Regions from separate parts of the Homo sapiens genome. Here region 2 is linked to region 1. The links are contacts of gene promoters, found by promoter capture Hi-C in blood cells and fetal thymus (Javierre and others, 2016). All regions are on one chromosome and are shown on one strand. Each heading gives the region's core, a stretch centred on a gene start or on the middle of the fragment in contact. The rest is flanking DNA. Distances are from core to core; before and after follow the strand shown.

Region 1 (3,757 bases), core at 1,258-3,757:
CCTCTACCTCCTGGGTTCAAGCAATTCTTCTGCCTCAGCCTCCCGAGTAGCTGGGATTACAGGGACCCACCGTCATGCCTGGCTAATTTTTGCATGTTTAGTAGAGACGGGTTTCACCATGTTGGTCAGGCTGGTCTCAAAGTCCTGACCTCAGGTGATCTGCCTGCCTCAGCCCCACAAAGTGCTGGGATTACAGGCATGAGCCACTGTGCCTGGTCCTTTATCACAATTTCTAGTGGTTTTACTTATTCATCTTTTTATTTTTCTGACTTCTCTACCATACTGCAAGCTCTAAGAGAGCAAGAGACATGTATACCTGTCAGAGACATGTTCAGCACTGTATTCTCAGCACCCAGCACATAATAGATGTTCAAGAAATCTTTGCCGAATAAATATACAACGAGCAGGTACCAACCCTCAGGGCACCTTAGAATACAAGGATGGATGGGATATAATCTCTGCTCTCAGAACTGCCTGGTATGAGCAGCAGAACTAGAAATGGAGAATGCAATGAGATCAGGTCCAGATTGGGGGAGGGGGAGGATTTTAGGGCACCTAAACCAGGCCTAATGGACTTTTGCCACCAACCACCTAGAACCAAGGATAGAAGCATTTGGCTGCACCCTGCCAGGTGACTCAATTAGGCCCTGAGCATCCAAGCAGCAGCAGGGGGCTGATGACTCATCCCAGACAGTGTGTGCTTAGAGGGTCCTGGGACCCCTTTTTCCAGTGAGGGAGGGCTTGCCAGTTGGTCTTATGGGTCCTGTTTGTGGCCAAGTCCAAGGTCACCGAGGGTCCCAGAGACAACCCTACACCTCCTAGTCTAGCCTCCAATCTTTTGCCTGGTCCCTTGCTTCAGAAGAGATCTTGGGGAGTACTAGGGAAAGGAACATCTGCCTAGCCCTTGGGATTAGTGGGGTGACAGATGTCCCCACTGGTTTGCCTTCATATCTAGAGGGTAGATAGGTCATCCCACATGGTTCAGAGAAAGCTAGTGCCTCAGAGAACAAGTGGCTGACCTGCCTTCCTGTTCTGGACTACAAACGGGAGCCAGTGCTGGCAGGAAAGACTGAAAGGGAACCCAGCAGGAGGAGGAGGAAGGAAGCCACTGAGAATCCCCCCTTCTATGAAGAGAATGAGTCTAGAGCTCTGGCTGGCTCTCCTGGTAGAAGCTCACCTCTCAGTCCAATTTTCTCCCAGCAGTGAGGAAAGATGGCAGCTGCTGCTTTTCAAAGCTCAGAGAGAGCAAGAAACCTTTTCCTTCCATCCTCCCCCTCGGAGATTCCCACCCCCATCCCACCTCAGGAGCCAAAAAGGTAGGCTCAGGTTCCCAGCAGTCTTCGCAGCTAAGGCTGAATCTGCCAAAAGCCCCCGCCCAGCTTATCCCCTGCTTCCGGGCTTTGCCTCCCTGTCCACAGAGGATGCTCTTCAGCCAGAGTGCTCCAGGGTTCCCCTGATCATTCTCTACCTGCAGCTAGGCTGACCATGCCTCTGTCCACATTATTTAATCCACCAGGCAATACTCAAAATGACATCGTTAACACTTCCTGAGCATTCGCAGGCTGCTGTATTTAGTTCTGATCCCCATTCTTCCTCCATGAGAGTGCTTAGGTGGGGCATGATCTCCAGCTTAGAAAGGTTAAGGTAACTTGCCCAAGGTCACACAGCAGGAAAGTAGCAAAAAACTTGTTTCTCTTGCCCAGCAGTTTGGCAGGTGCTCAAATAATCTTTGTGCACAGGGTGACATCTGTTGTTTCTTCATTTCCCTGACCTGTGGGTACTTGAGGGTGGCCGGGGAGTGGTGTGTGGGGAGGGAGATGGCTGTCCTTCTTCATGAATGAATCTTTGACCTCCTTAGTTTACTCTCACTTCCAAAGAAGTTACAGCTTTAATCTCTCTGTACCCTATGTTCAATGTATTTATCGCAGCAATGCCCCTTTTACCAAGAGCAACGAAGAGCAGGTCTAATGATTTCCTTCTCAAAAGCGCAAAGACCAAAAAAAAAAAAAAAAAGCCAGATAAATAGCCCCACTTCCTCCCCAAATATACAGCCCATAACTAAACAACCAAAACAACCAAAGCATCAGCCGGGCCCCTGCACTGACCGCAGACGCCCCCAACACACGCCACCACGCCACACTGCGCCGGGAGGCGTCGGGGAGGGGGCGCCAGCGCGGGCCGCTGGCGCCGCAGGGAGCCGGTGGGCTCCGGGCGCGCTGCCAGGAAGGGCCGCACCGTAGGGGCCGCCGCCTCTCGCCACGTGGTGGTGGCAGCGGCGGGGTCCGGGGCGCCTTCCCAGCTGGAGAAACCCGGAGCAGCCGGGGAGGAGGAGGCGGAGGAGGCGGCGGCGGCGGAGGAGGAGCGGGGCGGACGGGAGGGAGGGGGTTGGGGGGAGGGGTGGGGGGTGGGGAGAGACCCGGCGGCGGCGACAGGGCGAGGAGCAGAGCGCGGTACCAGGGGGGTGGGGGCACTGGTGCCCGTTTGGGGAGGGAGCAGGCGGAGGGGGTAAGCTGCGATTACAAGCAGGAACCGGCAGCAGCTGTGAGTCCCCGGCTGGGGCTAGGGCTGGGGGAGGGGAGCGGCGCCCGGGCTGGGCCCCAGGGGTCGCGGGGTGGGCAGGAGGAGGCGGCAGGAGGGCGGCTGGCAGCCGCACGGGATGGCTGGGAGGGAAGGGGTCCGGTGTCGGCCGCCCTCATCCCCTCGCGTCCCCCTCCGCCGCCGTTCCTCAGGCCGCGCCACTCCCGGAGCCCCTTCCCCGGCCCCGAGAGGGTGTCCGGGGGCCCAGGGCTCGGCCGGTTGTGGGGGAGGGGGCTGCGTGGTCTCGGCCCCCGAGAGGGGAGGGGCGACAATTTCTGTCGGCCGAGCGAAAGGGGTTTAAAGGGCGGCTCTTAAAGGGGCCGCAGGAGGGGCCCGGGCCGACAGAGGCACTCACCCCTTCCCCAGCCGCCTTCCATTGCGCTCACCCGGGCGCTGGGCCCAGAGAGGAATGCGGAGGAAGGAGGCATTTGTGGTGCGGCCTCGGGGACAGAGCCCCGCCAGCGGGGTGGGCGCAGAGGGGCGGGCGGGGGTCTGGGGGGGTGTGGTAAGCGCTGGCGCGCGGAGCTGGGGGGAGGGGATGGCGTGGGAAGGAGAGGGTTAAAGGTGGGGCCGGCCCTACAAACGCGCGCACACACTCCTTACTCAGACCCAGTCACTCGCGTTTCCCTGGCACTTAGATGGGCCTGTGGGTGGCGGAGGGGGGGGGGTGGATTGAATTGGAGCCTGCGCCGGAGCCCTTTGCACCCCAAGCTCCTGCAGCCCGACCTGGGGGCCCCGCTGTCTGAACTCACAGCTCCCTGCCGAGCCCCCTCTCCGGGGTGCACATAACGCTCCAGCGCGCGCACACACCTCGGACAGTCCCCTCGCGTCTCACGTGACACGCGGCCCGGACGTGCCACCCTGCCCACGCGCTCACGCACGCGTGCACACACCAGCCTCCTGGTCGCTGCCCCACTCCGTCCCGACGCCCCTGCGACCCCGAAGGCACTCATTGACTGACACACCTACACTCATTCACAGACGCACACTCCCCCCATACGCCAACCCCAGACACACATTCATAACCAGGCCCGAGAGAAGTACACACGCACCCCCTCACTGCCTACTCCTGCTTTCGGGAGCCTGAGTCATTCCTGCCCCCTCGTAGGGTTCCCCATTTCCCGGTGCGCGGGCACCCTGAGACAGCCTTGGGAATTCGTTCGCGTCCCCTTCCACCTGG
Region 2 (3,757 bases), core at 749-3,248, 580 kb before region 1:
CTTTAAAAAAATGCTAGAGAAGACAACTTACAGTTACCATTAAATATGACTTGAAACCTCCAGAGGAAGTCCAAAACTAAAATATAAGATTCTGAACATACACTAATGCCAAAAGTGCCCAGTTTTATCATTTAATAGCTGAGCCTGTTTTCTGTTTTGTAAAATGAAGTAATACCTACCTTCTAGTGATGAGAATTGAAAATACCATCCACAAAGCAAGTAACACAATCCATAGACCAGGATCTCAGCAAACATAGCTTTTAAACAAAGTTTGCACTTACAAAGAAAAATAAAACCTATACTGAACCTTCATGAACCATAAGTTGTCAGCTAAACAAGCCAAAGAATAGCTCCATGTCTAAGCTGCTGTTTATCCTTGTTCAGCTGACATTAAATGGCAGGTCCTAGGGAAGGTTATGAGGTCTGCATTGTTCCCCTTGGAACTGCCCAGCTCACCCCACCTTCACATGTTTTTCCCTGTTACTGCCTTTTCTTCAAGTCTGAATAAAACCCTTCAGCTCTTTGTACTTTCTCCAAGATACCAAAAAAAAAAAAATTTCAAATTAGAGTAAAATTTAGTTTCTACATCTTACTTCTTTCAGATCCTGACCTTTTTAAATAGATTCTAATTGGAACAAAAAAACCTTTGTGTCCCTTTTGAAGAAATTTCAGAAATCACGTGATCAAAGAATAAGCAGTTGACTTGCAAATTCGCAGCTGCTGGTTGGTAAGGGGCTTCTGTAGTTTGAAAAAAGGTATTCTAAAAATTACCATTGTTTTTGTCATAGTATTTATTTTGATATTCCAAATAATACTAAAAAAGAGTATGACCGTTTAAAAATATAAATATATTAAGAGTGTAAGTTTTAAAAAATTAGATAAACATTGCTCTAGTTTTTTGTGAAACATAAAACTGTATCTCTGTTTTTCTGTGCCTTCTTATTAAAATACAGATGGCACAGCTTTCATATAGCTTTAACAACTTGATTATAAATTGCTTTCAAAAGTAACTTATTTGGATTTTCCATATCCTTTAATGAATTGCAAATATATTAACAGAAAAGACTTTCCCCCTCAACACTGTACAATTTCTGAAATAAGTCAGTTAAAGCAAAAAGAAGACACAAAATTACATTGTTTCAATGCAAACAGAACACACACTTCATACCCACACTTGCATTTTCCCAGGTTTTCACAAAGAAAATGGGTCACCATATTTCTCAGTGAAGACTCATACTATACTCTGGCTAATCAGAGACTTCCAAACTTTTTTCTTCAAAAAGAGCATTTTTAATAGACTAAATACTGGTTATCACTGAGTTTTTGTTTAAGGTACAACAGCAGCATGGTTCAAATGTTACTTGTAGTTCTCGGAAAAATTAAAAATTTTAAGTGATGAATACAGAAAATGTAGGGACCACCTTTCATTCTTTTGAGTACCACTGTTCTCTTGAAAAAATATTCTAACCTTCTAAAATCCCAGAGTTAAGAACCATTTCCAAGGGGAAAAACAAATCCAAGGCCACAACATAACTTCTGAACAAGTGTGTGCGCGTATATATATATGTATATAGATGTATTAAGTTGGTGCAAAAGTAATTGCAGGTTTTGCCATAAAAGTCATGGCAAAAACCACAATTACTTATGCACCAACCTAATATATGTGTGAAACAGAGAAAAGGATGTCAAACTACTTAATTTAATTTCTGTAAAATAAACTTCTGAAATTTGAAGCAAACATTTTGCTTGATCAAAATGTGTTCTTCTTCGGGTTGTTTGATCCCCATTCCATGCAAAAAACAAAACCAAACAAAAAAAGAAACTGCAAAAGCCAGAAAGTGTTACTACGTGGGAAATAAGGCTTCAAATACCTAAATGACTTTGAAAGTAGGTATGAGGAAAAATAAAATAGGCCAAGCTTGGGCGGAAACTGTCCCCCAACCAGCCATTGCCATGGCATGTCTTACAAAACGATCCTTTTATCCTTGGTCTCAAAAAATCAGTACCAGAAAGACTCTCACCTCTGGCACATAAATTCCTGCTACAAAAAGATAATTATACTTCAGCAAGTTATGTTCTAAGCTTAGCTTTCTCCAGGCTTTATAACGCAGAACTCAGGTTGAAGCTTTCTATAAAACTCTAAATGACACTGTTATACAGCACCTTGTGCTTTGCCAATTAAAAAAATAAAAGAATCTAAAATTAAATATTACAGAACTAATGGATAATACAATAGCATACGTGTTAGAATCCAAGTGCTAGCCTCTGGGAATTTTTCATTATATTTATTTTCTCCCAACTGTTCCTTTTTTTTAAAAAAGTATTGTTTTAGACAGTACATATACATAAATTTAGGTAGGGAAATCTGTTAAATATCTCTCTGGCACCTGATACCTAAAGACCCTGACTTGAATTAATTTATAAATTGTACCTAATCCATGTTCAAATGAGATTAACAGTAAATTATAGAAAATTACTGAGTCTACAGACTAAAATTTTTTTCACATCTTTTGTAATCCACCTTATTTTCACAGCTTGACTAACAAATACAGGTAAGTTTGTCCTCCATCAAATAATCCAGAATAATAACTGTAGGCCTGTCATTCATAAGAAACTATAATTTGTTATATTCTGACACTGGCACTTAATAAAATGTTAACAACTAAAATTTCTCTAAAAATTTCAATACATTACAGTAAAGGAGATAAACAATTTAAGACTGTTTAAATCTGTTACTGTGGAATTCCAATAATTATCATTTTATATGCATAATTGAATTCTTAAAATTGTGGCCATTTTCCAAAGACACCAATCTATATTATGACAAACTCAGAAGAGAACCTATCTCCTTCATAAGAATGTTTTTTCCCCCAAGCTAAAAATTTCCAACATCCTAAACCCAATTACTCTTAGTAAATGTTTTGGTGACTCACACTACTGAAAAAATCTGAAGCAGAGAGTCAAAAAGAATGGAAAGGATCTCAACCAAAGGTAACCACACATTCTTACACTCTGCTTAAGCAAACACTTAGAAAAGTCAAAGGGATGTTTTGAACAAATATAGATTCAAGGTTATGGTACAATTCTGATTATATTAAGGCTTTCACTATCATGATCTCTTAAAAGTCTCTCCACTTTAGTGTTCTCCTTCTGATTCATATGGTGAACTTAAGGGGTTATTAAGGGCCTTGTTTTGGCTTCTCAGTGGGGAACCACTCTATCATCTCTGAATGTTAAAGGTGATCCCACAGAGCTCAAAGAGAAGAGGCAATATGGTAAGAAACAATTTTAAAGTTTGCAATACCAAGACAACAATGATCAACACTTTGAAGCAAGATGAATAAATTAAAATTCTTGGTTAGACATTAAAGCATTCTTGCCAAGAATAAGAGTACACTGTATGGAGGGATATTTGATTCCTACATACGAGTCCCAATATGCCCATTACATTTGTTTATGGGAGATACTGCAAGTTTAAGGTAATTTACATTCCTTGGCAATCAAGTCACTGTTATAGGCAACGTCTTTTATTGTTCCATCTGGCACTTGCAAACACCATTCTTGAAGAACCTAGAAATGAAGGTCAGTTACTCTGTTTATCAGGAACAGAACCAAATAAAAACAAATTTTTGAAAAAGCAACCAAGAAACTCTGGTTCATCACTATTTTCCATATCTAATGGTTCCTTCAAGATAAAGCATAACTCTTCCTTTCATGATACTTTCCAACAAAGGGAGATTAAAGAAAAACAGAAAAG

Evidence for each region. Contacts are between HindIII fragments. The CHiCAGO score rates a contact against its expected background, and 5 or more counts as called.
Region 2: a fragment that was not itself captured here is called in contact with the fragment with the promoter of TBKBP1 in region 1 in 1 of 17 cell types (erythroblasts); the score reaches 5.4 in erythroblasts.

The regions. Positions count from the first base shown.
Region 1 is chr17:47,691,654-47,695,410 of GRCh38, forward strand. It overlaps TBKBP1 (TBK1 binding protein 1), which reads left to right and starts at 2,508. Exons shown (of 10, transcript NM_001394755.1): 1 at 2,508-2,541. RefSeq lists enhancers at 2,263-2,943, 2,944-3,623, 3,624-3,757 and silencers at 2,727-2,856, 3,107-3,166. The HindIII fragment of the contact is 10,063 bases long and covers 1-3,757 here.
Region 2 is chr17:47,116,930-47,120,686 of GRCh38, forward strand. It overlaps CDC27 (cell division cycle 27), which reads right to left. Exons shown (of 19, transcript NM_001256.6): 19 at 774-3,757. Among named protein-coding and RNA genes, the nearest start is that of CDC27, 70 kb to the right of the region's middle. RefSeq lists an enhancer at 2,871-3,481. The HindIII fragment of the contact is 164 bases long and covers 1,917-2,080 here.